Linked DNA regions of Homo sapiens: all the other regions are linked to region 1. Evidence: promoter capture Hi-C in 16 types of primary human blood cells and fetal thymus (Javierre and others, 2016). All regions are on one chromosome and are shown on one strand. Each heading gives the region's core, a stretch centred on a gene start or on the middle of the fragment in contact. The rest is flanking DNA. Distances are from core to core; before and after follow the strand shown. Region 1 holds the start of EAPP (E2F associated phosphoprotein). Region 2 overlaps AP4S1 (adaptor related protein complex 4 subunit sigma 1). Region 3 holds the start of TRAPPC6B (trafficking protein particle complex subunit 6B). Region 4 overlaps STRN3 (striatin 3). Region 5 overlaps HECTD1 (HECT domain E3 ubiquitin protein ligase 1). Region 6 holds the start of STRN3 (striatin 3). Region 7 overlaps STRN3 (striatin 3).

Region 1 (4,091 bases), core at 821-3,320:
GAAACACTGTATAGCTTCTGGCCCTATACTTAGTATTTCTTAACATTTACACAGCATTTTCACATTTCCAAAGCAGAGTACCAACATTTATTAATCCTCACAACACCCCTGTGAGGTAGGTCAGTATGTCCTTTAGAGTCGAGAACTGAGGCAGAGGTCAAGCAAACCTGCCCTGGGCCACAGAGCAGCAGATGAAGGGCCTAGACCTGGATCCAGAAGCTAGGGCTCTCGGTCCAGCATTCATCCACTGGTGGACATCACATGGGCTTATTTTTACCAGCGAAGGTTACGTGAAGGACAAAACGCACTCAGCCAGCAACGGAAACTCAACAGTTCAAACAGCACTGGGGAACATGTCAGTTAAAGAGACGAAACGCTGACCAGCTCATGAATGAGGCAAGACAACATGCGGCTGAGGAAGTGTGGAATCATCACGACTGGGGATTAGACCAAGAACGGGCGCTCAGGAGGGTTCAGGAAAATGTAAACAAACTAGGAACCCATCCAAGGGGTGACAGGCCCAAATGCCTACGGTCTCCAAATGGTAGAAAAATTAGAAAAAGATAGTGGAAAAATCCAACCACGCAACCTTAACTTTAAACTAGGAATGACAATAATGTGTCTAATGTTCATTCACACTAGAAAGGCCGATAATGTTTGTAATATAACTACTGGCGATAGTATCCTATTTGTATGCCAACTTTCATCTCAAGTATTCTGCTTTTCTTTCCCCACAGACAAACAAGTGTTGTTCTTTACAGCAGACCTCTTTCCCTCTACATACCAATCTATCCACTCGCATAACTACTAAGTGGCTCAATGGCCTATGTCTCATGCTTAATTGGCTGAGCTAGGCGCGGAATCCGGGAAACCACAACAGACTGTACTCTGCTCCTGTATTTCAGGAATAACTGTCACTAACCTGCTTCTGTCCGATTCCACCTTCTATGAAGTACACACAGAGGAGCAGTTCATTCTTTTGTAAAGGGATTGGTGGACTTTGTTCGAGATGCCATTTCAAAAGAAATGAGAAAAAAGAAAAACTAAGACCTGCACTGTAAAGCATAATACAGGAGTAGATTTATTACAGCTACTCCACATTTTAGAGAGTGCCACAGTGTCTCGGTAGGAGGCAGGAACCCGAGTTCCTGGTTCAGAAACAGGGTTAGAAACAGTCTCCCGATGGAGCTCAAGTGGCTGTCATCTGCCTGTTCTCCTCAGGTATCGAGTGGGATCAGTTGAGGGCTGAGCAAAAGTGGGGACTGGGAAGATGACGAGAAAAGATAACTTTTCGTAGATTGTTGAGGCCGCAGTCAGACTGAGGAGTGAACAGTGTGAAGGAGAGGTTGAGAGCCTCATGGTGTGGAAGGCATAAGGGTTAGAGGCGAGGTTGGAGGGATGTGGGTGCTGGTGTCTGAGGACTTATTGGATTTCGGGCTGTGTGTCCCTCAGCGTCTAGATTCCTGCTTCGTAGGTGATGAGACGCTGCATGTAGCATGTTCACCTCAGAGACTGTCACTTATGAGGGTGCCCATCATTATTATTTTTGGTGACAAGGTAGCTGCTATTTTCCTGTAAGCAGAAGCTGCGGAAGAAAATGGTGGGATTGGCCGGGAGCGGTGGCTCACGCCTGTAATCCCAGCATTTTGGAAGGTCGAGGTGGGCGGATCACCTGAGGTCCGGAGTTCGAGACCAGCCTCAACATGGAGAAACCCCCGTCTCTACTAAAAATACAAAATTAGCCGGGCGTGGTGGTGTATGCCTGTAATCCCAGCTACTCGGGAGGCTGCGGTAGGAGAATTGCTTGAACCTGGGAGGCGGAGGTTGCGGTGAGCCGAGATCGCGCCATTGCACTCCAGCCTGGGCAACAAGAGCGAAACTCCGTCTCCAAAAAACAAAACAAAACAAAAATGGTGGGATTAAGACCCGCCCCCGTCCCGTCCCCGCCCCTTTTCGCTCCTGCTCCGCCCCTTCCCCGCCTTCTACCTGCCTCCCTCGGTGCTGTCGGTCTGCGCGGGCGCGCAAGGGGGACTGGGACGTTCAGGCGGAAGTGGCGTCAGGGGCGCTTTAGGGACTGGACTTGCAGTGTAAACAGAGACGCTGCAAATTGCTTGTGGACGGTGTAGGCCGCTGCAGGCCACCATGAACCGGCTTCCGGATGACTACGACCCCTACGCGGTTGAAGAGCCTAGCGACGAGGAGCCGGCTTTGAGCAGGTGGGCTCCCGCCCCACCCTGGCCCCCGAGGATTTGGGTCGAGGCCTGGCTTTGGTCGCCTCCATTCGTTGCGCCTGCCGAGCCTACGCAGACCCTAGCGGCTCGGGAGCCTGTCGTGCCTGTTACTTGTGCGAAGCCAAAGGGCTTTCCTGATGGGGTCGCGCAGTCCCGGGGGGAGGCGGTGCCGATGTCGCCTGTAGGAAGAGGGATATTCCGGAATCACGGGGGACCGCGTGTAAATCTTCAAAAGCAATGAGATCGAAACCTGTCTCTACACCTTAGTAGCAGAGTGACGGAAGGCAAGTCAGTTATCCTCGATTACTCACCTGTAAAATTGAACTATAATAACATAATTGTATAACCTATATAACATAGTATAACACACTATGTTTGTTGTGAGGCTCACAGGACTTAATGTGAAGTGTCCATCTTGAAGACTAAACTGCCATAAACAGAAATAAGGGAATATTGAACAGCCTTTTTTATTTTTATTTTTTGACAGGGACTGTTGTATGCTCGCTCTGAGCTACAGAGATAAATCATAAGGTCCTTGTCTTCCAGAGGCTTATAGTATAATAAGGGTAATAAGATAAAGTATATATTTCTTGGCAGAGCATTGTAGAGAATATTGACCTGAGATAGGCACAGAAGAAGGTTCGTGGGATTTCCAGAAGGGTGGGCTTTATTCTACCAGGGAAACTTGAAGCTGTTTTGCCGAGATATTTCCACACAAATTTAGTTATTTCTTAAGCTGTCAGCAGATCCTATTCTTAAACTTTAAAACATTCATTCTGCCTAAAGAAGCTTTCTGTAAAGCCATGCTTTCATTAACAACTTTGGCTGGGTGTGGTGGCCCATGCCTGTAATCCCAGGACTTTGGGAGTCTGAGGCGAGAGAATCTCTTAAGCCTGGTAGTAAAGGAACAGCCTGGGCAACATAGTGAGACCTCATTTCTTAAAAAAAAAAAAAATCAAAAGAACAATGTTTCCTCATATTGTCATGGGGAGACATTGGATGCATGGGAAATCAGACTGCTGTTAAGATTTCTTTTGTTGGGAGTGAGGATAGATACCAGGATTCCCTGTGAAAAAGAGTTTCAGTTAATGGGTCCTGTCTGTGAAAGGAGGTATGTATATATGTATGTCTCAATTATTTATTTATTTATTTATTTATTTTGAGACAGAGTCTCACTCTGTCAGCCAGGCTGGAGTGCACTGGTGCAATCTTGGCTCACTGTAGCCTCCACCTCCTGGGTTCCAGCAATTCTCCTGCCTCAGCCTCCTGGGTAGCTGGGATTACAGGCATGCGCTACCACACCTGGCTTATTTTTTGTATTTTTCGTAGAGATGGGTTTTCACCACGTTGGCCAGGCTGGTCTTGAACTCCTGACCTTAGGCAATCTGCCTGCGTCGGGCTCCCAAAGTGCTAGGATTACAGGCCTGAGCCACGGAGCCAGGACTGTTGTATCATTTTTTTAAGGAAGCTTTATAATTCTGTGACAGTTGCCACTGGTAAGGTAACTGTAAAGATAAATATTATAAAAACAAAACAATGTTATCAGACAGTATTGCCTGTTGTAGGCTCTGAGCCAAATGGTTATTATTTTAAAAAGGGAGATTAGTGTTAGAGAGGTGTCTGTCAGTATTTAATTTTACACTGTTTATAAACTAATACATTGTAGCCTGTTAACTGTTTCACGGTAGCTGACCGAAGACATGAGACTCCTGGGTCAAAGATAAGACTACACATAGCACAGCAAGCAGCATGAGCATCATGTTTGTGTGGCTTGCTCTTGCTTGTCAACCCTACAGGTATTACGCTGAGGGTCCTAGAAGAATGCTGCACATTCAGTGGGTTGGCATCGTGGCTAAAGAC
Region 2 (4,368 bases), core at 1,364-3,863, 3.5 Mb after region 1:
TTTCATTACAGTCAACCCTTGGTATGCAGGGTATTGTTTCCGGGACTGCCCTGAGTATAACCAAATCCGTGCATACTCAAGTCCCACAGTAGGCCCCGTGGAACCTACCTACACAAAAATCAGCCCCATATAACTGGGGTTTTGCATGCCACAAACACTGTATTTTCCATCTGTGTTTGGTGGGAAAAAAAGGTGCATATAAATGGATCCGTGCAGTTCAAGCCTGTGTTGTTCAAGAGTCAACTGTATTATTTCCTTGCTGCAACTAGAAACAACATTATGATATAATACTTGGACTAAGTTTTATATATATAAAAATATATATACATAAATATATAAATATATATACATATATACATAAATATATATACATATATACATAAATACATATAAATATATATACATATATACATAAATACATATATATACATAAATAAATAAATATATATATATATATTTTTTTGTCCTCCCAGCTCATTTCTTGTTTCCTAAGCCCTATCAGACAGGTGGTTATCTTACAGCAATTCTACACACTAAGCTGTAAAGAGCCAGGCCCAGTGTGGCCAAGCCTGGGGTTGTTGCCTTCATTTATCTAGACCAGCTCAGCTGGGGATATAACAGCTGTGCCATGGGGGAGGCCTGTGGCCATTCACTCCCTTTTCCAGGAAGATAAGCTCATGGCTGTGGGTGGGATTGCAACATACTCTGTGGTGTTTAATCATTTGGTATTAACTGCTGCTTTTATTTGCCTCACAAATTATTGTCAGTAAATTACGGCAGGTTACCAGGAAGCTAAGATTACCATCCTTTCTTTTACTCCATTTCAGCAAAGTTATTTAAAAACCATCTTTATGATAGTTAGAAATTATAATTCTATACCTTGGATTTCAACTGCCAGGTAAAAGGAAAAAAATGTCTCAAAGGTACTCATGGCCAAACCTTTGCCTTTAAATGTCCTGCTTGCATTAAGTGGTAAAATGAGATGTAAAAAGATCTCACTGAGGTGTTACAACAAGGGATCAAATTGGTTTCTACCTTACAAGCACAGCATTCCTTCCCACTGACTTCAAGAACAAGGATGACAAATAAGGACATGTTGAATTGATATTCATTAGGATGTTAAGTTTTGAAAAGAGTAAATGAAGGCTTCTAAAGACTTGCATATATCTTTCTTTTCTTGCATGCTCTTAAACATTAGACAATTTTAACTGTAGCATGATGCAGTGGTAAAAAACTAGAGAAACACAACTGTAAACTATTTTTACTATAGAATATACAATGCCAAAATAAACAATGTGGAGACTCAAGAGACAAGTACACATCTGAGAACTGAAGATGAATGCTGTAAGCACCTATCATGGTTATTAATCATCAAGGAGGAGGGAGATGAAATAATTATGAAACTGAGGTAGGACAGTAAGAAGGGAATATGCTTAGACAAGTGTTGGGAGTGGTCAGGGAGCAGGTATGAACTTCCTGTTTTAAACTATTTGCATTTAACGACACACAAGGGGCCAGGTGTGGTGGCTCACACCTATAATTGTAGCACTTTGAGAGGCCATGGTGGGAGGATAGCTTGAGCCCAGAAGTTGGGGACCAGCCTGGGAAATACAGTGAGACGCCATGTCTACTAAAAAAAAAGGAAAAAAAAAAAAAGCCAGGCATCGCGGTGTGTACCTATAGTCCCAGCTACTTAGGAAGCTGAGGTGGGAGGACTGCTTGTGCCCAGGAATTGGAGGCAGTGGTGAGCTATGATCACAACACTGCACTCCTACTCTGGCCTGGGCAACAGAGCAAGATCCTATCTCTAAACACACACACACACACACACACACACACACACACACACACACACACACATACACACACAGAGATGGGGAAGATGTTTTGATGACCAGGAAGGAAGTCAGTAGATGCTACAGGCAAAAGCTTGTGTGAATGTGTGTATATACATCAAGGAAGAAGAAAGAAGGCAACTTCACTGGGGAAAGCATTACACAAATGGTGCTAGGATGCCCTAGCAAGGGAATCTAGAAAACCCCGAGAGGAAAAGAAGGTTAAGGTTACTTAGAGCAGGAATCAAACAAGCATTTTCCTTGGATTAGCATGAACATGCTTTTAAGACTAGTGAGACTGGTAGATTCAGAGTAGAATACGGGGCCAGGCGAGGTGGTTCATGCCTGTAATCCCAGCACTTTGCGAGGCCAAGGTGGGCGGATCACCTGAGGCCAGGAGTTGAAGACCAGCTTAGGCAATATAGGAGACCATGCCTCTACAACAAAAAACAAACAAGCGAAAAAACAAGAGCTGGGTGTGGTGGTTCATGTCTGTAATCCCAGCTACTTGGGAGAGTAAGGCTGAGATCAGGAATTCTAGGCTACAGTGAGCTATGATCACTCCACTGCACTCCAGCCTGGGTGACAGATGGAGACCCTATCTCTAAAAAAAAAAAAAACAACTGGCTGGGTGCAGTTGCTCACGCCTGTAATCCCAGTACTTTGGGAGGCCGAGGCAGGTGGATCACTTGAGGTCAGGAATTCGAGACCAGCCTGGCTAACATTGTGAATCCCCTTCTCTACTAAAAATACAAAAAAATTAGCCAGGCGTGTTGTCGGGTGCCTGTAATCATAGCTACTTGAGAGGCTAAGGCAGGAGAATCACTTGAACCCAGGAGGCGGAGGTTGCAGTAAGCCGAGACTGCACCACTGTACTCTAGCCTGGGTGACAGAGCAAGACTTCGTCTCCAAAAAATAAATAAATAAAATAAAAATAAAATAAACCAAAACAACATAAAAGTAGAATATGCTCAGATCCATGTCCCAGCAACCACATGATGTAAACTTAATGCCCAGAGAAAAGAGAGATTGAAGAGGCTGAACGAAGTACACATTGAATTGAGCAGGTATTATATTTCTGATGGCGTATTTCTGGGAGTTAGACCTAGGAGAGTCTTTACAGATTGTCATATCCAAAGATGGCAAATGGGTTTCAACTTGGGTGTCAACTGTGACTAACTGTTAATAGCTGCTTTGGGAAGGATTCTGGAGCTGCTTCCAGGTTCAAAACAAAAGGATGGCATGTCAGTTGTAGGTTAGGAAGCAGGGAGTGGCAACATATGCACCTTATATTTGTCATCCCTGAGGTGTATTCCCTTCATTTTGTAGATGGGAAAACTGATCAGAGATGTAGAGTGAAGTCCTGAATTCTGCTCCCCTGACTCATACTACAATGCTGTCTTTAATCTATCACATTGCCTCACTCTACATATCAGTGTCATTAAATGTTCACTTAAGCTTTTTTTTGTTCTGTTTTTTGAGACAGGGTCTTACTCTGTCACCGAGGCTGGAGTGTAGTGGCACAATCACAGCTCACTGCAACTTTGACCTCCCAGGCTCAAGCAATCCTCCCACCTCAGCCCCCCAAGTAGCTGGGACTACAGGTGCACACCACCATGCCCAGCTAACTTTTGTATATTTTGTAAAGGCGGGGTTTCCAGTTGCCCAGTCTAGTCTTGAACTCCTGGACTTAAGTGATTCACACGCCTCAGCTTCACTAAGTGCTAGGATTATAGACGTGACATTGTGCCCAGCCAAATGTTCACTTGAGCTTAATGAGCATTAACTTCAGGTAGCTTTGGAAGTGATCCAGTCATTATTCTCTTTTCTAACACCGCTGCACAATTAATCTGGAAAATGCCAAACGAATCACTGCATGAAAAAGTACAGTATAGGCTGGGCACGGTGGCTCACGCCTGTAATCCCAGCACTTTGGAAGGCCAAGGCGGGCGGATAACCTGAGGTCAGGAGTTCGAGACCAGTGTGGCCAACATGGCGAAACCCCATCTCTACTAAAAGTACAAAGATTAGCTGGGTGTGGTGGCGGACACCTGTAATCCTAGCTACTTAGGAGGCTGAGGCAGGAGAATCGCCCGAACCCAGGAGGCGGAGGTTGCAGTGAGCTGAGATCGCGCCACTGCACTCCAGCCTGGGCGACAAGAGTGAGACTCCATCTCAAAAAAAAAAGAAAGAAAAGAAAAAAAACAAGTATGGTATGTAGCCAGGTACATGCATCCATAGTATTAGCTACTTGGAAGATTGGTTGAGCCCAAGAGTTTGAGGCTGCTGTACACTATGATCATGCCTGTGAATAGCCACTGCATTCCAGCCTGGGCAACAGAGCAAGACCTCGTCTCTAAAGAGAAAACAAAAAGTAGAGTATGTAGATTTAGAAATGAAAATGATAAGGCCGGGCACAGTGGCTCATGCCTGTAATCCTAGCACTTTGGGAGGCCGAGGCGGGCAGATCACTTGAGGTCAGGAGTTCAAAACCAGCCTGGCCAACATGGTGAAACTTCATCTCTACTAAAAA
Region 3 (3,975 bases), core at 152-2,651, 4.6 Mb before region 1:
ACGAAGTCTTGCTCTGTCGCCCAGGCTGGAGTGCAGTGGCACAATTTCTGCTCGCTGCAACCTCTGCCTCCCAGGTTCAAGTGATTCTCCTGCCTCAGCCCCCCGAGTAGCTGGGATTACAGGCACCTGTCACCACGCCCGGCTAATTTTTGTATTTTTAGTGGAGACGGGTTTTCACCATGTTGGCCAGGCTGCTCTCAAAACTCATGACCTCGTGATCCCCCCCACCCCCCGTGCCTCGGCCTCCCAAAGTGCTGGATTTTACAGGCATGAGCCACCTTGCGGTATGTTAATTTGGGGGAAAACAACAGGGACAATTGGGGAAAAATTTTGTTTTGTGAATTACCAATGGAAGAACTAATCACAGGCTAAGCAACATGCTTACGGTTGAATTTGCCAAATTTAAGATGTACATACTATGATGTAGCATGTGTATTTATTTGCACATGCAGTGGGACAATTCCTACAGTTGTCTCACACTGCTGTAGATTATTAGCAACTCCATCCTGCAGTGACATCGCTTTTCTGAATTCTATAGCACTTTTCACCTAATCCTCTGATTAGTCTGTATTTTCCGGTTCAAGTGTATCTTGTTTTTCGTTTGCTCCACTTCCCTTGTCCCTTGCACCCCACTAACAGGAAAATTCCTGGTGGTCAAAATGGCTCTAATTCTTTTTGTATACCCGGGCTTAATTCAATAGGAATTGGGATAACTTTTCAATATTTAAAAAATTTGCACTGTGAAAACGTATATTTTAAACTCTTTCTACAACTTTTCATATTTGAAGAACATATGGCAGGAAGTGGATGCTTTTGATGAAGCCAAAAGAATTTTTTTAACTTCTATTGCTAATTAACAAGGAGGTGGCCGCGGGAGCTCTTTTTTTTTTTTTTTTTTTGAGACGGAGTTTCACTCTTGTTGCCCAGGCTGGAGTGCAGTGGCGCGATCTCAGCTCACCGCAACCTCCGCCTCCCGAGTTCAAGCGATTCTCCTGCCTCAGACTCCCGAGTAGCTGGGATTACAGGCATGCACCACCAGGCCCCGCTAATTTTGTACTTATAGTAGAGACGGGGTTTCTCAGGCTGGTTCGAACTTCCGACCTCATGTGATCCACCCGCCTCCGCCACCCAAAGTGCTGGGATTACAGGCGTGAGCCACCGCGCCCGGGCCAGGCGGGAGCTTTAGGTCTTATTTTATCTTGCTCTGCCCCCGACATCGTGGTGAGAGGGGAACCTTCCTCATATCTGGGCGCTGGCCTCTCCGGGCTTGGGAGAGAGGAACTCAGTGATCATAGAGCTGGCCGAATGCCGGGGTAGAGGGGACCGGAAGTTGTTTTTTTCGCCCCCGCCCAGCGGCCGGATCGCATCTCAGCTGGTTGGCTTTGGTTAGAGCTCCCGTCAGACTTTAGTTCGGCCCTAGGATTTGGTAGCCCCGAAGTGTGGGCTCTCTCCAGTACCAGACTCATTTCAGTACCAGCCTTTGGGAAGTCGTGTGAATACCTCGGTCTCTTAGCCACAGGGATAGAATGGCGGCCTGACGGAGCCGCGGCGCCGGCGAAGTCGCTGAGGCGCGAGCTGGAACCCCCAGACCAGCTCAAACGGGAGCCAAAACTCGAAGCTTGGAAGAATTAGCAGGAAATGGCGGATGAGGCGTTGTTTTTGCTTCTCCATAACGAGATGGTGTCTGGAGTGTACAAGTCCGCGGAGCAGGGGGAGGTGGTGAGTGCTGCCACACAACCTTGAGGTCCTTTTGCGGTGACACACCTTGTTTCCCCTCAGTGCTTTCCTTCAACCCCTGTCCCATCGCCACCCGACGCCTCCCGAGGTGTACACAAAATGGTCCACCTCCAGGTGTCCTAAACCCTAGAACCTGTCAGTTGTCTCCTTTGAACCGTCATCTTTCATCGTTTTCTCTTTCGTATCTTCTTCTATTTGATTCTCTTTTGTCTATTCCCGTACGTTTGTCTTGCACGCCACAGATTTTGGTACTTTTAGTGTTGTCCCTGCCATTATTTACGAGAGGGTTAACTGCAGAGCCTACTTAGTTTTGCTGGCACTTCCAGCACTTGAGCCATGCACTGGACAGACCTGTGCCAACCTGAGAAGCCTGTCCCTCCTTCCTCATTCCTAATGCTCAGTACAACTCCACACAACTTGAGACCTGAAGCCTAATGAAGGTTGAGTTTGCAAAGGAAAGTTTGCAGGCGTTAGGATAATTAGGGAACATAATTTAAATTAATTATTTCAGAAAGTATTTATTTAGTGCCCTTATGTCAGAGCGATTTCTAGGTGCCAGGGATATAGTAGTGAATGAAACAATGGCCCCATCCTTGTAGAGATTTTTTTTTAATCTAATTTAATCCGAAATGTGATAGTATGTAGCGGTTACTTCTAATATGTGGGAGTCCTTATTCAATCATTGTGGGCCTGTCACTGCTGACACTGCTAGATAAATTAAATAAAATAATACTCCTGCCTCACAGTATTTAGGGAATAGTGATTTAATGAATAGTTAACACTGAGTATTGGCTGGTAGAATCATGGAGTTGTAACGGATTTTAGAAATACTCCAAAGTCATGCTCAAGTCAGGAGCCCTTTCTTTAATGCTATTGATAAAAAATGAGTGGAGAGTGGGGATAGGAAATGTATCCTAGGCAAAGATAAAGTGGTAGAGGTATGAAAGAGTGGTGGATTTAAATACACTTAAGCATTTCTTTGGACTAGACTGAATAGAGAGTGAGAAGAATTGAGAGGTGAAGTTAGAAAGCTTTGTGTAATTAAAGAATTCGGATCTTTTCGAGGGAATATTTTTAAGGAAGGGAATGATGTGGACCATTTGCATTTTAGAAAAGTAATCCAGTGTTTGGGCTAGAGAGGGAAGATCCTTGTAGGGGGAAAATCCTTTATTACGGGAGTCACTGCAGGAGGAGATGAAGATCTGGATTAAGACAGGGATAGTGAGAAAAGGAGATAACAGATTTGAAAGTTAGAAAGTGGAATTCTGTAGGCCTTGTTTAAGGATGGGAGTGGGAGTTGAAAATTATCGTCAGGTTTTCAGCTTGAGCAGCTGGGTTGGATGGTGGTACTATTAATCAGAAAAGGAAATAAAGGAGAAGAAAAAAATAAGGAGGTAAGATAATGAGTTATTTCGGGGCAGGTTGAACTTTTGAGGTGCCTGTATGACATCCAAAAAAAGGTACTGCCAGTTTGCACAAGAAGGATAGGCAGGATACATTTGGAAGGTTATTGGAAATGAAGCGAATTCTATTCTTATTCAAATGACCCATCTATAATAGAGATTTTTTTCAAGTCACAAACTTCTGACTTTATTATTGACCTCAAGGTTTACTGTTTGTGCAAAGCTAGCCTTCCTTTTCCCTCTAGAACAGTTAACACACCCCTTTTACTTTTTTGTCATAACCCCCGATCCCCCCAAACCACTTGCGTATTCAGTTCTCTTCATTCTCCCCTCCCTTCTTACCTTTCCTCTTCTCTCTCTCTCTTTTTTTTTTTTTTTAGATGGAGTTTTGTTCTTGTCTCCCAGGCTGGAGTGCAGTGGTGTGATCTCAGCTCACTGCAGCCTCCGCCTCTTGGGTTCAAGCGATTCTCCTGCTTCAGCCTCCTGAGTATCTGGAATTACAGGTGCCGGCCACCATGCCTGACTAATTTTTTTGTATTTTTAGTAGAGACGGAGTTTCACCCTGTTGACCAGGCTGTTCTTGAACTTCTGACCTCAGGTGATCTGCCCGCCTTGGCCTCCCAAAGTGCTGGGATTACAAGCGTAAGCCACTGCGCCTGGCCCTTTTCTGACTCTTGTCTAGAATAATATTTTTTCTTCTTTTTAAAATATCTTTTTTTTTTCCCGTGGGTTAATCCTAAATAAAATGAACAGAGCTGTTCTACTCAGGCCTGATAATTTTAAGAGATGGACTAACATACAAGAGAAAGGAAGTTCATAGTTTTGAATCATTTAA
Region 4 (4,209 bases), core at 1,108-3,607, 3.6 Mb after region 1:
GAGAAAATAACATAATGAACTTAATGTACTCAGCATTCAGTTTTAATACCTATCTATAAATGCCCAGTATTACACATGCATTATGTGGTGTTTTACAGTTTATTTAGATAGGGATCACATAAGATTTATGTATTGCAGTTGTTTGATAGGTCTCTCAGGTCTCTCTTCATCCATAGATTCCCCTTCATCTCTTTTATGTTCTTTTTTTTTTTTTTTTAATTGACGAAATTGGCTACTTTGTCTTGTCAAGTTTCCGACAGTCTGGATTTTGCTAGTTGCATTCCTGTGTTATTTAATGTGCTTCTCTATTTCTATTCACAGTTCTCCTGTGAATTGATTATAGATCTAAAGACTTATTCAAATTCAGGTTCACTGTTTTTTTCTTTTAAAAATTTTTAAATGTTCTTGGCAACTTTACTTCATAAGTAATTTGTAAGCTTTTATCAGAGGTGAGTATTTTCTGGTTGTTCATGTTTTTGTGATGTTTTCAGTCTGGATTATTTCCTGGGTTCATTCATTTTCTATTGAAAGATTTTCTAATTTTATCATTCCCTCTCCATTTATTAGCTAGATTATTCCTATAAAAAAGAACATCTCTTTATCAACAATTTGGTTACCTTGGAGTTAGTGTGTATTAAGGAAAAAGGCAAGATAAATGATTGGGTTTTGGTTTTCCCCTTTATTTACCAGTTTTTAAAATAATGAGTTGGTTTGCTAGCACCCTCTAAAGGTGACCAGTTTGTCTTGGGTGGTGTTTTTGGTATCATCATACTCTCTCATGGATATAAATGTATTTGATGTGTTTTGATCCATTGCAGGTATTATCTTTATTTATTGCTGTTCAGATCCTTTGATTTTGGCCAGTGGGGCTTACTCAGTGGGGCTCATGTTGGCTCCTGAGTCCTTTTGCCATGACTTTGGTTGTTGTTGATAGCTTCCTGATATGACATATGACAAGATCTTCTAGGTTCATGTTGTTCATTTTGTGCCCTAGATCTGAAATCAGCTATTTATCTAAGGAGTTGTGGTTTCTTTTAGTGGGAAATGGTATTTAGAGACTACAGTTGGGGTACTAGGCTGTTGAGTTGATCCTCATGGTCTTCATGGCTCCTGGGTTGTTCATTGTGTTAGGCTTTTTCAATGGACAGAGCTAAGAAATAAACATTTTTTAAAAAGTAAAATACTTCAACTTCAGATTTATCTTGGTTCTCAACAAAATTGTTTCTCATTTTATTTACCCCACAGTGTACACAGAATCGTCTCAGTAATAATACCATTACCACCAAAAGATCAAATATTGATAATAAAACTTTGTAATTAGGGTATATTCCACTAGTGATATACAATCTAATTTCTATGCTTTAAAGTCACTTGGAATAGTTCCTTCCTTTGTAGTTACACCACCAGTTGGATATACTTAAGTTCATTTGTTTAATTTTACTTTTGATTTTCATTAATTTCTTTTAGAAAAACAACTGTTGGCTGGGCGCATTGGCTCATGCCTGTAATCTCACCACTTTGGGAGGCCAATGTGGGAAGATAGCTTGAGGCTAGGAGTAGAGACCAGTCTGGGCAACATAGTGAGACCCCATCTCTACCAAAAACTTAAAAAATTAGGTGGGCATGGTGATGTGTGCCTGTAGTCCTAGCTTTGGAGACTGAAGCAGGAGAAGCCCTTGAGCTCAGGAGTTCAAGGTTACAGTGAGCTATGATTGCACCATTGCACTCCAGCCTAGGTGACAGAGTGAGTCCTTGTCTCTTAAACAAAAAAAATTGTTTTATAATTATGTAAAATATTTACATGGTGCCATGGTCAGATCTTAAACCAAAATTATCTTCTAAGTCTCTTTCCCAGTATCTCCTCAAACCTATTTTTTTAATTACTCTACATAGGTAACTATATATATATATGTATTTTTTATATGTTTAGGTGTAATATATGAGTTGCGATACATAAGCAGAATGAATGATCTAAAGTCTATTAATATTGAGGAGTTTCCCCCCATTTATTTGTTTTGATATTTCTCTGTTCTCTCTCATCTTTAATAAAAAGTTAGTAAGAGCTTACTGGTAAAGAAAAAAATCTCATCTTTAAAGATCATTAATTCCAGTTCTTTGTTTTTTTGTTTTTGTCAGTGTAGGTAGATGGGGGTTGTTCCTTACAAACATCTGACTAGCAATTGTGAATGTTTTCCTTCTTTAAATGCTTATAACTCTTATATGGACTGTGTATTAGAAGTAATAATTGTGGATCTTTTAAAAATTCTAAACTACCTATAATAAAGGGTGGCATTAAAACACTTCTCAGTTTTTCTAAATTTGAGCCTAGTACAGTCTATATTATAGGACATAATAATGTAAATGTTTATTTTTTAAAAATCTCTCTAGAGTCCTTGTTTGGTTCTCAGATTTTTTGTTTTATGCAAAAGGTTTAGTTTTTAATGATTTTTATATTTTAGCACGATTAAAAAGGCCATTATCCAACTTCTTATTAAAGGTTTGAATTTTAACTTATTGTCTTCCTTTATTTTTCAGGTTTACAATCTAATAATCATATCAACAGAGTAGTAAGTCATCCCACACTTCCTGTTACAATAACTGCTCATGAAGATAGACACATCAAATTTTTTGACAATAAAACGGGTAAGCAAATTGTCTTCTTTTCATATTAGTAATACTGTAAATTTGAGATGATCAAAAATGCTGTTTTATGTAAGATATATTGACTTTTCAGATACGAAATTGCCAAATGAAACCATTTTAACTCAGATTTTTGCTTTTCTTAATGTTGCACGCTTATGATTTGTTATTTTATCCTTAACTAGACATAATACCTTGCCTAGCTATTACGATTTCTTCAAGTCATGTTAGTTAAATGTAGATCCTTCCATTTGAAATTTTTCCCTCATATTCTGTTATGAATAAGTATGATGGAAGAGGTAGATCTCTTTCTGGTGTTTGGCATTTCCATTTTTTTTTTTTTTTTTTTTTTTTTTTTTTTTTTTTTGAGGCGGAGTTTTGCTCTTGTTGCCCAGGCTGGTGTGCAATGGTGCAATCTCAGCTCACTGCAATCTCGGCCTCTTGAGTTCAAGCGATTATCCTGCCTCAGCCTCCCGAGTCGCTGGGATTACAGGCATGCACCACCATACCTGGCTAATTTTTTTTGTATTTTTAGTAGAGACGGGGTTTCTCCATGTTGGTCAGGCTGGTCTCGAACTCCTGACCTCAGATGATCCACCTGCCTTGGCCTCCCAAAGTGCTGGGATTACAGGCATGAGCCACCGCGCCCGGTCGTCCAATATGTTCTTACAACTATGTCTCAGTGGATCAAATGACATTATAGTGCATAGTGTTTATTATCATCTTCCCTGTATTTCTTGTTGTAGGGAAATATACCAGTTGTATTGAAGTCGAATCAGATTTTAACTTAGCCATAGATGTGTGGTTGTTTTTTGTTTGTTTGTTTGTTTGTTTTGGGCCTCTTTTTTATCTAGTCATTACCTAGAATAATAGATAATAGATAGCTTGCTCTCTTTCAGGAAAGGTCTGACAGCTAGGAAGGCTACTTTGAGGAGAGGCTAAAACAGTCAGGGTACTGAAGGACTTCTAAATAAGAAATGTAAATGTTAATTGCAACATTGTTACAGGGTAACAAATTATCAAGTAAGACAGTGACCCAGAATTATAGGTTTCTCTTTGAAGATTATATAGAAAATGGCAATATGTTTTAGTCTGTAGTCTTAACAATGAGACCCTTTTGTTCAAACATTACTTTCATGGACAGATTCTTTTTAACAAATTGCAGACAAAGTGAATATTTACAGGTCTACATTGTGCACAGGACATAAGATTCAAGTGGATGTTCTTTTTAAAAAAAATATTTAAATTTTTTTTTTTTTTTATAGAGACAGGGTCTCACTGTGTTGCCCAGGCTGGTCTTAAACTCCTGGGCTCAAGTAGTCCTCCCATGTCAGCCTCCCAAAATGCTGGGATTACAGGCATGAGCCACTGCTCCTGGCCAGTGTTCCCAATTTAACACTTCATCAAATCAATCCTTTGAACTATTTTTATGAAACCGATAATGTTTTTCTCTGCTGCAAGAGCAAAGAGGTTAATTTCCTTTGTGTTTCTAAAAAGATTCCTGTTTATTAATTATTGAAGATTTACAGTTATATGGGAAAGTTCAGGAATTTTAGTAGTTATATTAAA
Region 5 (3,846 bases), core at 447-2,946, 3.4 Mb after region 1:
AGTGTTACCGTGGCTAAACTGGAAGAGTCTACAGTGTTACCCAGCAGGCTGTTGGCATTGCTGTTTTTTTGTTTTTGTTTTTGTTTTTGTTTTTTTGAGACAGAGTCTCGCTCTGTCGCCCAGGCAGGAGTGCAGTGGTGTGATCTCGGCTCACTGCAACCTCCGCCTCCCAGGTTCAAGCGATTCTCCTGCCTCAGCCCCACTGAGTGGCTGGGATTACAGGTGCACGCCACCACGCGTGGCTAATGGCATTGTTGTAAACAAACAAGGGCAAGATTCTTACCAAGAGAATTAATGTGCATATTGAGCACATTAAGCACTCTAAGAGCCGAGATAGCTTCCTGAAACACATGAAGGAAAATGATCAGAAAAAGAAGGAAGCCAAAGAGAAAGGTACCTGCATTTAGCTGAAGTGCCAGCCTGTTCCACCCAGAGAAGCGCGCTGTGTGAAAACCAAGGGAAAGAAGTCTGAGCTGCTGGAACCTCTTCTCTGTGAATTCATGCATAATAGTGTTTAAAAAAAATAGCCAGGCGCGGTGGCTCACACCTGTAATCCCAGCACTTTGGGAGGCCGAGGCGGGCAGATCATGAGGTTAGGAGATCGAGACCATCCTGGCTAACGTGGTGAAACCCCATCTCTACTAAAAATACAAAAAGTTAGCTGTGTGTGGTGGTGGGCACCTGTAGTCTCAGCTACTTGGGAGGCTGAGGCAGGAGAATGGCGTGAACCTGGGAAGTGGAGCTTGCAGTGAGTAGAGATTGTGCCACTGCACTCCAGCCTGGGCGACAGAGCGAGACTCCATCTCAAAAAAATAAAAAATAAAGATAAAAATAAAAGACCTCTGGACTGTAAAAATGTTTCTCTTCCTTGAGTAGAAGTGTGGTGTCCTCTCCCCCAAAGAAATACTTCAGGCAAATTTTAATTTTGTCCTAAGCCTAATTGTGTAATGTCTTTACTATTCAAATTTAATGTATTTCTTGCTGAAAGATGTGAGATGGCTTATTGTGCAACAAATTACTCAATTGGTTAGAAAATGGTCAGATATTATTTACGAAATATTTGTACTACTTTGAAGATAGTCCCTCTAATCATGGAAGAAGTAATTTACCAAAAAAAAAAAAGCATTTAAAAAGTTTCTGTTTTCAGGCTGGGCACGGTGGCCCATGCCTATAATTCCAGCACTTTGGGAGGCCAAGGCAGACACATCACTCGAGGCCAGGAGTTCGAGACCAGCCTGGCCAATGTGGCAAAACCCCATCTCTACAAAAAAACACAAAAATTAGCTGGGCGTAATTCCAGCTTTTTAGGAGGCTGAGGCATAAGAATTTGCTTGAACCCGGGAGGCAGAGGTTGCAGTGAGCTGAGATTGCACCACTGCACTCCAGCCTGGGCAACAGAGCAAGACTCATTGTAGGTGCTCAATAAATATTTTGTTGAATGATTGTTTACCTTAAGTACTCTTCCAAAATAGTTGTAAAAAAAAAGTTATAATTTAAACTGTTTGTTTTCTTCCCTGATAGTTACATTTTTGTACCATTTAATGCCATTTACAAAGCATTTATATACATAGAACTATAGGCATGTTGTGATAACTGGCATTGATTATAATTTGTTTTATAAATGAGGAAATTGATTCTGCACGTACTTAGCTGATTTGCCTAAGATCATGAGAAAATAGTAGCACACATGAGAGTAGAACCTTCAGCTTCTTATTCCTAATTGTCGGTTCTTCCTCCCACCATAAATGGATTGTTATTAAAAAAAAGAAAATGTGGCCGGGTGTGGCGGCTCATGCCTGTAATCATAGCACTTTGGGAGGCTGAGGCGGGTGGATCAGTTAAGGCCAGAAATTCAAGACCAGCCTGGGCAACATGGCAGAACCCCCATCTCTACTAAAAATACAAAAATTAGCTGGGCGTGGTGGCACACACCTGTAATCCCAGCTACTGGGGAGGCTGAGGCAGGAGAATCACTTGAACCCGGGATAGGGAGGTTGCAGTGGGCCGAGATAATGCCACTGTACTCCAGCCTGGGTGACAGAACAAGACTCCATCTCAAAAAAAAAAAAGAAAAATTGTTTTAAAATTATAATTACCGTTTTGATGGCGGCTTTCAGTTTGAAAGATAGCTTAATCATTTCTAAATTTCTCTGATAGGAAACATTTTTCCTTTTTTTGAATGATGTTGGGGCTTGGACAACAGATTATTATTTTTATTGAACTGCTAAAATAAGGAGGCAAAATATAGACCCAGTACTTTCTCAGTTTGCTTAAGGCAGATTATAATAAAAGGAGTTTCATATATTTTTACTTGTGACAGGAAGCAGTTTATGTAACAAAAAAAGATTACTGTGTTTTAAAAATCACCTGATAAAATACTATTTTTTAATTTCTTAAATCTTTGAATTCTGTTGCTGGTTTAGTAGTACATTCAGCTGTTAACGTATGCTGCAGCTCATAGATATTTTTCTATTTCAGAGCAATAGTATGGTTACAGAACCGACGTGAAGCCACTGTGGAGCGAACGAGAACCACAAGCAGTGTTAGGCGAGATGACCCTGGAGAGTTTCGAGTTGGTCGTCTCAAGCATGAAAGAGTAAAAGTTCCACGTGGCGAGTCACTGATGGAATGGGCTGAGAATGTCATGCAAATACATGCAGATCGGAAATCAGTTCTTGAGGTAATCTCATATAAAATTAGATTTAGGGAACAGGAATGACACTTAGGGAACCAGCCCAATGTGTATCTTCACTGCATTAAAAACTGTGGTAGGTAAACATGAAGAGGGGTTTTCCTGTTCTGTAGGCAGAAGCCTTCTCCTCTGGCAGAGCATCTTTTTCATAAGAGGATGTCAGTCCACCTCCTTAGGGGTTAGGTCTTGTGCCATTAATGAGCAACAAAGAAGATCTCCACTCTTGAGGTGGCAAAGTGCTTGTTCTGCTTGAGGGCTTCTACCCATTTCATAACAAAGTTGGACTAAAATAGTAGTACTCACAAGGGATTCTTTTTTACTTTTACATTAAACTGTGCTGTTTGATATTTTGGGAGCACCTGGTTTTGTAATATTGTTTCACTTGAATTGTGCTTGGTATTATATCACTGGTCTGTGTTGAGACATGTTATAGCAAATGGTAGTATGACATTTAATATATTTAGTTTAGAAATGTTACTGTGGACATTGTTGGTTTTATTTCATATACACAGTATTCCCTATATGAGGAAGAGTGGAAATACGTCTCCTGTCACAGGGGTGAATCCAACTGGTTTGTTTTTAACTTTTGGATCATAAACTAATTGCAAGAAATATGATACATCTCTAGAAGATGTCCAAGGCTTTACATCTTTCACTTTATATACAGACTTTCATTGTATTCCTCCTACCCTTATGTTCTTCTTCTTCTTTTTTTTTTTTTTTAATAGAGACAAGTTCTCACTATGTTTCCCAGGCTGGTCTCAAACTCCTGGGCTCAAGTGATCCACCCGTTTCGGCCTCCCAAAGTGCTGGGATTACAGGCTTGAGCCACCATGCCCAGTTGTTTACATTCTTCTAATATAGATAATCTTTTTTTTTAACCATATGCTGTAGTTTTTATTATACTTTATGCAATCACTTTAAGGGTTTTTGTCCATACTCTTCCTGTTGCAAAAATGATTTAAAGTGTCTTTAACTCAGAAATAAGCAGAAGAGGCGAGGCGCAGTGGCTCATGCCTGTAATCCCAGCACTTTGGGAGGCTGAGGTGGGTGGATCACCTGAGGTCAAGAGTTTGAGACCAGCCGGACCAACATAGTAAAACCCTGTCTCTACTGAAAATACAGAATTAGCCAGGCATGGTGGTGCATGCCGT
Region 6 (4,027 bases), core at 852-3,351, 3.5 Mb after region 1:
TAGTACTTTAATAATTTGAAGAAATATGTAATCTTAACACTTTGTGAAGCCAAGGTGGGTGGACCACTTGAGCCAGGAGTTGGAGACTAGCCTGGGCATCATGACAAAACCCCGTCTCTACAAAAAATACAAAAATTAGCTGGGCTTGGTGGATGCACACCTGGAGTCCCAGCTATCAGGAGGCTAAAGTGGGAGGACCACCTCAGCCAGGGAGCTCCAGGTTGCAACAAGCAGAGCTCACACCACTGCATTCCAGCCCAGGCAACAGAGTGAGACCCTGTCTCAAAAAAAAAAAATAAATAAAATAATAATTTGAAGAAATGGTCCTTAACATTATAGTACTGCAATCTAAGATCTCATTTCATATAGAAATAAAACATGGCAGCATGAGTAACAGGTCCAATCTGCTTTCCATTAAACTGTAATAACAGTAAAGCAGATGTGATAAAATAAGATGCATTACTTAATCTCTTTTGAAATTACTTCCTGATTGGTTGGTAGTGCATACTCCATAGTACAAGTTTTATTGGCTTTTGCAGTAAAGAAAAAAAATTTTAAAAAGTAACAAATTTTCAATGCAATTTTCCTGCATCGCTATTAATATAATTACTGAACCTAATTTCCTTATGTTGTTAATTATTTTTGTCTTATTTTTCAAACAAATGCTTCTTAGCTATATTAATTTTTAGAAACACACTAGTGCATTAGGATATTTTCTAGGAAACTAAGCACATAAAAGTACCCACTATTGTACTTAAAATATTAGCCTTGTCTCTTATGTATATGTTACATTCCTCAAACTTTTTAAATTTTTTGCCGACACGGAGTCTCGCTTTGTCGCCCAGGCTGGAGTGCAGTGGTGCGATCTCGGCTCTCTGCAACCTCAGCCTCCTGGGCTCAAGCAATTCTCGTGCCTCAGCCTCCCCAGGAGCTGGGACTACAGGTGTGCGCCACCATGCCCGGCTAATTTTTGTATTTTTAGTAGAAATGGGGTTTCACAATGTTGGCCAAGCTGGTCTCGAACTCCTGGCCTCAAGTGATCGCCCACCTCGGCTTCCCAAAGTGCTGGGATTACAGGCTTGAGCAGCCGCGCCCGGCCATATTCACTTAAACATTTAATGACCCAGGAGAACATTCATCTAGGATTTTAAGTTGTACTCACAGTGCTTTTATTTTCTGTTTCGATCAAAATAGTCTATTGATGACAATATTTGTGAGCCCATTCATTTCTACCGTATCAAATTGTTAGTCTAGCCAGTCTCCTTCAAACTTCTCTCCCTCTACCCATCATCGTCAAGATCTAAAGGAATTCACTACCTCTTCTTCTCCCAAGAAAAAAAAAATCGCTCCTCCCCCTCTCCCAACCCCCCCACAACCCATTCCAGAAAAGGAAAGAAGAGGGGACGCAAAGTGGAATAAGTTACGACGGGCGACCGAGCGCATAGAAATGGGACCAAAGCCCAGGCTCAAGACAGAGACGAGGAATCAGTAACCACAGCCGGAGGATCTTGGCTATTTGCCAGCAGAGAACTGACTGGTTCTAAGAAACCAGAGGCAGAGCGAGTGACAGGAAGGGAAAGAGGGCCCACCCTTGGGACTGCCTGAAACACTCAAAGAATGAAAAAGAAACGTCAGGAATCCGAGACGGGATGCGGTCGGCCAGAGCGACCAGCCAGGTTAACAACCAGCTCAGAAAGCCGGGACACGGGTGAGAGACCCCTGGGAAGGAAACAGCGCCCGGGGACGGCCTGCTAAAAGGAAACTGATAACCAGGAAGCCTAAGGCCGCCTCGCTTCCAAAAGTCAGAGTCGGAGCCCAGGTGTCCGGTAGCTGCGGCCAGACACCGGATCGGGTCTGAGGGCGGGCCTAGGGGCGGAGCCCGAGCTCTTTCCCCGCCCTCTAACGGCGACCCGGGCTGCGTTCTCAGTGCGCCGGCGTAGGGTGAGGCCGGACTCTATTTGGCGATTAAGCGTGAGGCTGCGTTCGCTACCCAGCATGCTGTGCGCTAGTGACGGCCCTCCGCCTATCCCCTTCCCAACTCTCCCCCCACCCCTCCCGCCGAGGCCCCCCCTTCCCCTAAAGTGAGTGAGTGAGACGGGCAGATGGAGGAGGGATTGTAATGGCGGCAGCCGGCAGCTCCCTGCTCTGACCCACGGCAGGCACACAGCAACGACCCCTTCCCCGCCCCTCTCCCGGCCGGCCTCCGCCCCGCAGCCAGCGCGGGGCCACCCTCTCCGGCCCTTCCCCCAGCTGTCGGCGTCTCGCCCTGCGCCCCGGCCGGGGCCCCACACACAATGGACGAGCTTGCCGGAGGCGGTGGTGGCGGCCCGGGGATGGCGGCCCCTCCCCGGCAGCAGCAGGGACCTGGGGGGAACCTGGGCCTTTCGCCCGGGGGGAACGGAGCGGCGGGCGGCGGGGGTCCTCCGGCCTCCGAGGGAGCGGGTCCCGCGGCAGGCCCCGAGCTGTCCCGGCCGCAGCAGTACACTATCCCGGGGATACTGCACTACATCCAGCACGAGTGGGCTCGGTTCGAGATGGAGCGGGCGCACTGGGAGGTGGAACGGGCCGAACTGCAGGTACCTCGTTGGGGTCGGTGTGCGGGAGCTGCGGCGGCTGGGTTCCCGGCCGGGGGGTGGGGCTGGGGACTCCACTCAGCCGGAGCCGGCGCCTTGGGAGGCCGAGCGGAACCTACCTGTGCTGCTCAGGTTGTGATGGTCCTCTCAACGGCTTTTCCTGGAGTCCCCCTCCCTCTTTCCCGCATAAGCTTGCTCCCCAACCTTCACTGGCTACGCGGTGCGGGCCTCCTCGGGGCAGCCATTTTGGCTTTTAGTATGGCGTCTGCGGGGGCTCCTCCGGAGGCGGCCTTCCCGGGCCTCCGGGGCTTGGGACCGAGCACCTCTCTGTGGGAGAGTCCGGTTTGGGGCCTCTCAACACTGAGTTTGCTCTTGTTTGTTCCTCTTGAGATGAAGAGCCCGAAGAGAGGGACTAGGATAGGCATCTTACCCCCCTTTTCCGGACCACCCCCCTTTCCGATTTGGCGTATCTGGCCCCCTCCCTCAGACTTGGTACGCGCTTGCCCCTTGACAGCCACGCTTCTTTCCTGGGCTGCTAGGGTGCACAGTGACTTGGGACTGACCTGTGAAGTTTTATTTCCCATCGTCAACTTTAAGTACTTTCTCACCTGAGATGCTGCCTTACTCACTTGGATTCTCTGTAGTTATTCCTTACTTAGTGACTCATCAACGCTTTCAGCACTGAATTTTTCTTTTTACAGTACTCTCCACTAGATCTCCTTTCCCCCATCCGTTTCTTTATCTATAAAAAAACCAAACCAGACGATCGATGCTGTATTTATGAAACGACTGAAGAGATTTAATATTCCCTTGAAGTGAAACGTAGTTATATCATGTTACTTACTCTTGCAGGAGAAGCAAAGTGAGATGTTCTCGGAACCCTTCATAGTTGAGCTTGACTCGATCCTCATAATGTGAACCTTTGATAGGCTGCACATTTGGAAGCTGTTGGTAGTTAACAGCTCATGTCCTGGATCTCAAAATTGCTGCATCTTTTTGAAAGGGTTATTTAACTTTCTTGGGTATTTGTGTTTATTTTTAAATACCTTTCCAGGGCAAATTTAGGCTTAGAAGGAAAAAGCGTGTGTCTAAATAGTATTGCACCTGTTCTTCAGACTGTTGTGTATTTAGGGGGTAAGCAGTATTTGCTGTCATATATGTCATATGCCTATGGTGAATCGTTAGGCAAATGTAGTGCTGAAAGGAGGAGGATTGGATTAACTAGAAAGGGTGTCCTCAAATATGCATCTCTTTAGTTTGGTTCTGAACTAGTAAACTTTTATATGACTCCACAAAGTGGGTGAAGTTAAACTTTTCAAAAGTAAAAAATACTTGGGTATTTTGACACTGTATGAAGTCTTAAAAAAAAGTAACACTTGTTAGTCATTTCAGTGCTTTACAATTGTGTTTTGATATAATATTGGGCTTTAAAATTACATAACTTTAAAAAAGCT
Region 7 (3,811 bases), core at 904-3,403, 3.6 Mb after region 1:
TCTCTGCGTTTTGGTATCCTAGGAGGGTCCTGAAACCGCTCCCTCACAGATAGTGAGGGCCAACTGTATTTTAACAGATGAAATCTGTGCTGTGTCAGCTTTAGGGAGACAAGTCATGGTCACATTTTTTGGCACTCATATACACCCTAAATTCTGTGGTCTTCATTATAAGTTAAGGAACCTGTCTCCCCTTTTGCATATCAAGTACATGCCATCTCTTAAAAGTCATAGTGCCCTTTGGCCGGGCGCGGTGGCTCAGGCCTGTAATCCCAGCACTTTGGGAGTCTGAGGCGGGCGGATCATGAGATCAGGAGATCGAGACCATCCTGGCTAATACGGTGAAACCCCGTCTCTACTAAAAATGCAAAAAAAAATTAGCCGGGTGTGCTGGTGGCGGGCACCTATAGTCCCAGCTACTTGGGAGGCTGAGGCAGGAGAATGGCATGAACCCGAGAGGCAGAGCTTGCAGTGAGCCGAGATTGCGCCACTGTACTCCAGCCTGGGTAACAGAGTGATACTCCATCTCAAAAAAAAAAAAAAGTCATAGTGCCCTCAGAAGACTGCTAGAACACTCTTGCCACTCTGGTTTACTGTTACTTCTCTTTAACTCCTTGAGTCATTAGGCCCAGGGATTTTTTCAGGAAATGTGTATAGGAGTCCCTCTTTCCTGAGTTTATAGCCTCTTGTTCTGTCCCATTCCACATTTCTGAATTGAAATGACACACATGCTCTTAAAGTATCTGAGCCTTCCATTTTTTTGATTTAGTCTTCATTGTCACCATTGTGAGTCTTTCAATAACTGATGACAGACAATTCATATTAATCATCCCATTTCATAGATATGGAAACTGAGGTAATTAATTTGCCCAGGGTCACATGAGTTAGTATGTGTTAGGGTTGGAATTATGCATTGGAATCTCCTACCGTCTGGCTATAAATCCTGTGTTTTGTCCGGGCGCGGTGGCTCACGCCTGTAATCCCAGCACTTTGGGAGGCTGAGGCGGATGGATCACGAGGTCAGGAGATAGAGACCATCCTGGCTAACACAGTGAAACCCCATCTCTAAAAATACAAAAAAATTAGCCAGGCGAGGTGGCGGGCACCTGTAGTCCCAGCTACTCGGGAGGCTGAGGCAGGAGAATGGCGTGAATCTGGGAGGTGGAGCTTGCAGTGAGTTGAGATTGCGCCACTGCACTCCAGCCTGGGCGACAGAGCCAGACTCCATCTCAAAATAAATAAATAAATAAAAATCCTGTGTTTAAATGACTGTTTTGTTGCTGCTGTCTCGCTACCTCCCAATCTACTACCTTTGGAGAAATAGTCACTATATCATTGGGCTGCCATGAAGAGGAAGGCTTTTGAAGTCAGGCCTAGGTATATAACAGCAAGCCATCTCTTCCAGGTATGGGTGCCATTGCTGTGAAGATAGAGGAAGTTCACGGTGAAGAAGGTAGTCAGAATCTGTTTGTGGCAGGGTCCAGGCTGGGCAGGTTACTAGAACAGGGGTCTTTAAGTGATTGCTTAGTGGGCCAAAGAATAAGGTAACTGACCCCTCTCTTTATCTTGAACTTGACCAGACTACTTTCTGTGGATGATTCAAATTCCTTTTCATATGAGTCTTTTTATTTTTGAAGGTTAAGAATCTACCTGGGGTAGTGAAGGCATTGGACCCTGGGAAGCCAGTAGACTTGAGATCTACTGTCCTGATTCTTCTATCTTACTAGCCAAGACAGTGTCCGTGAGCAAGACACTTTACTTCCAGAGGGGGTGGCTTAGTTGCCTAATTTGTAAAATAATTATAATTCATTATTGGAAGTGGAGATTATAGAGCTGGAATATTCACTTCCTGTGGTATAAATAGTGTGAACAAAAGTTGGATGGCTGTAAAGTGCAAGGTCTTTTTTGAGGAATGTTGCATGTTTCACTTGTGGTAGAGTACAGAGGAATGATGAAAAATAAGCTTGAAAATGTAGGATAATGGTAGAATGGAGAGAACCTTGAAAATAGCCTGTTAGGACAGTAGATGAGTCATTCAAAACTTTGTCAGAGAAAAGTGAGAGGACCTGCTTTATAATTGTACCATGACTTCATTTTCTTTATTAATTATTCTCTTTCTCTTTTTAAATGTTCAGATTTTAAGGAATAAATTTGCATTCCAACCAAGTTTTGCTGTTTCATCTCCATTCATTGATATGCTTTAATTTTGTTGTAGTTGGGCTCAGCAGATTTCTACTTTGTATTGTATATGTTCGTTGAGTAAATATATTTGGTAAAATTAAGAAAGGTAAATAACAAATAAAAATAGGTTGTGGTGCTAGCAGAAAGGGGCATAAAGAGATAAGCTTAGAAAAGTTAATACCTGGAACAGCTTTTTGTTTATTAATTTTAGTTTGAGTATAAGGGTCAGAGTTTGGTTGATAATACCTTTTAGGATTTGCTTATGAGGCCAAAGTGCTGCTCGTGTCACAGGACCTAGCTGAGCATCTTGGACATTGTTTTTTAATATGTCAAATCAGTGTTAGTCTTGTTCAGTATAATAAACATTTATTGAATGTTTGGAATAATGGAAGACTTGGCTTCTGTTCAGGGCTCACAGTCCAGTGAAGGAATGTAAAACTTGCTTTAATATACAAGACATTTGGAAGAAAGCACTGCAAGAAGTGAGAAAAACAGCTGGACGCGGTGGCTTACGCCTGTAGTCCCAGCACGTTGGGAGGCCTAGGCGGGCGATTCACAAGGTCAGGAGTTCAAGACCAGCCTGACCAACATGGTGAAACCCCGTCTCTACTAAAAATACAAAAATTAGCTGGGCATGGTGGCACACACCTGTAATCCCAGCTACTTGGGAGGCTGAGGCAGGAGAATTGCTTGAACCCGGGAGGCAGAGGTTGCAGTACCAAGACCGCGCGCCACTGCACTCCAGCCTGGGCAACAGAACGAGAGTCTGTCTCAAAAAAAAAAAAAATTATATTCAACTGATTGAATGTAAGAAAATATTGTGGGCAGAATCACAGCGAGTAGTCAGAATAATCTTTCTGGAATGCAAATATTGATTATTTTATTGTTTTACTTTTTAAGCTACCATGGCTCCTCCAAATTTCTAATATGAACCTCAAGGTCCTACATGGCCTGGTTGTGACGTATTTCTCTAGCCTCAGCTTAAATTTTATTTTATGTTTTTTTTTATTTTTTATTTTTTTGAGATGGAGTCTCGCTCTGTCACCCAGGCTGAAGTGCAGTGGCGCGATCTCAGCTCACTGCAAGCTCTGCCTCCTGGGTTCACGCCATTCTCCTGCCTCAGCCTCCTGAGTAGCTGGGACTACAGGCGCCTGCCACCACGCCCAGCTAATTTTTTGTATTTTTAGTAGAGATGGGGTTTCACCATGTTAGCCAGGATAGTCTCGATCTCCTGACCCTGTGATCCGCCTGCCTCGGCCTCCCAAAGTGCTGGGATTACAGGCGTGAGCCACTGCGCCTGGCCCTTAAATTGTATTTTATATTTTCTTTTTCCGGCTGCCATGCCTCTACGTTACTCTTGCCCTTTCTTTGGAGTTTTACTGTTCTTTATATCCTCAGAGTCTATCACAGTGTACAGCCTGTACTAGTAAGTGTGTTTAAAGGACTGTATGCCTTCTTGTACCATAAAGAGGGTAAGTTTATGCAAACACTGAAATTAAGAAACAAAATTTTGTTGGTAATTAGAGCTTGAGTATTTTTTTTGATTATCCTTCCATACAGTGAAATAAATGGAGATACCAAAATATAAAAAAATGAACTTTTTGCTTTGTGGATTTGAGAAAGACTATAAAGA

Evidence for each region. The method cuts DNA at HindIII sites, captures the fragments that hold promoters and counts their contacts. A CHiCAGO score of 5 or more calls a contact.
Region 2: a fragment that was not itself captured here is called in contact with the fragment with the promoter of EAPP in region 1 in 1 of 17 cell types (erythroblasts); the score reaches 5.4 in erythroblasts.
Region 3: the fragment with the promoter of TRAPPC6B here is called in contact with the fragment with the promoter of EAPP in region 1 in 6 of 17 cell types (total B cells, non-activated CD4 T cells, fetal thymus and 3 more); the score reaches 17.7 in total B cells.
Region 4: a fragment that was not itself captured here is called in contact with the fragment with the promoter of EAPP in region 1 in 1 of 17 cell types (M0 macrophages); the score reaches 7.0 in M0 macrophages.
Region 5: a contact is called between a fragment that was not itself captured here and the fragment with the promoter of EAPP in region 1, in 1 of 17 cell types (monocytes). The highest score is 5.4, in monocytes.
Region 6: a contact is called between the fragment with the promoter of STRN3 here and the fragment with the promoter of EAPP in region 1, in 1 of 17 cell types (M0 macrophages). The highest score is 6.1, in M0 macrophages.
Region 7: a fragment that was not itself captured here is called in contact with the fragment with the promoter of EAPP in region 1 in 1 of 17 cell types (M0 macrophages); the score reaches 5.1 in M0 macrophages.

Annotation. Positions count from the first base shown.
Region 1 is chr14:34,537,680-34,541,770 of GRCh38, reverse strand. It overlaps EAPP (E2F associated phosphoprotein), which reads left to right and starts at 2,070. Exons shown (of 6, transcript NM_018453.4): 1 at 2,070-2,216. The coding sequence starts at 2,143. LOC105370447 (a long non-coding RNA gene) reads right to left here and starts at 2,022. Exons shown (of 2, transcript XR_943739.1): 1 at 1,987-2,022; 2 at 65-1,585. LOC112268123 (a long non-coding RNA gene) reads left to right here. Exons shown (of 2, transcript XR_002957583.1): 2 at 1-537. RefSeq lists silencers at 1,893-1,992, 3,934-4,091 and enhancers at 2,133-2,292, 1,943-2,867. The HindIII fragment of the contact is 15,759 bases long and covers 1-3,022 here.
Region 2 is chr14:31,056,020-31,060,387 of GRCh38, reverse strand. The region is part of intron 1 of AP4S1 (adaptor related protein complex 4 subunit sigma 1); the gene reads right to left. Among named protein-coding and RNA genes, the nearest start is that of STRN3, 32 kb to the right of the region's middle. The HindIII fragment of the contact is 1,364 bases long and covers 1,932-3,295 here.
Region 3 is chr14:39,167,759-39,171,733 of GRCh38, reverse strand. It overlaps TRAPPC6B (trafficking protein particle complex subunit 6B), which reads left to right and starts at 1,401. Exons shown (of 6, transcript NM_001079537.2): 1 at 1,401-1,719. The coding sequence starts at 1,639. RefSeq lists enhancers at 174-763, 1,545-1,594, 1,354-1,943. The HindIII fragment of the contact is 6,900 bases long and covers 1-1,620 here.
Region 4 is chr14:30,900,970-30,905,178 of GRCh38, reverse strand. It overlaps STRN3 (striatin 3), which reads left to right. Exons shown (of 18, transcript NM_001083893.2): 16 at 2,536-2,643. Among named protein-coding and RNA genes, the nearest start is that of COCH-AS1, 13 kb to the right of the region's middle. The HindIII fragment of the contact is 3,836 bases long and covers 440-4,209 here.
Region 5 is chr14:31,108,231-31,112,076 of GRCh38, reverse strand. HECTD1 (HECT domain E3 ubiquitin protein ligase 1) reads left to right here. Exons shown (of 43, transcript NM_015382.4): 36 at 2,479-2,680. It also overlaps the pseudogene RPL21P5. Among named protein-coding and RNA genes, the nearest start is that of STRN3, 84 kb to the right of the region's middle. The HindIII fragment of the contact is 6,849 bases long and covers 1-3,846 here.
Region 6 is chr14:31,024,453-31,028,479 of GRCh38, reverse strand. It overlaps STRN3 (striatin 3), which reads left to right and starts at 2,101. Exons shown (of 18, transcript NM_001083893.2): 1 at 2,101-2,576. The coding sequence starts at 2,295. AP4S1 (adaptor related protein complex 4 subunit sigma 1) reads right to left here and starts at 2,831. Exons shown (of 6, transcript NM_001128126.3): 1 at 2,693-2,831. RefSeq lists enhancers at 1,603-1,762, 2,873-2,982, 3,053-3,152 and silencers at 1,893-2,212, 2,303-2,562, 2,702-2,883. The HindIII fragment of the contact is 12,759 bases long and covers 1-2,766 here.
Region 7 is chr14:30,986,896-30,990,706 of GRCh38, reverse strand. The region is part of intron 1 of STRN3 (striatin 3); the gene reads left to right. Among named protein-coding and RNA genes, the nearest start is that of MIR624, 26 kb to the left of the region's middle. The HindIII fragment of the contact is 382 bases long and covers 1,963-2,344 here.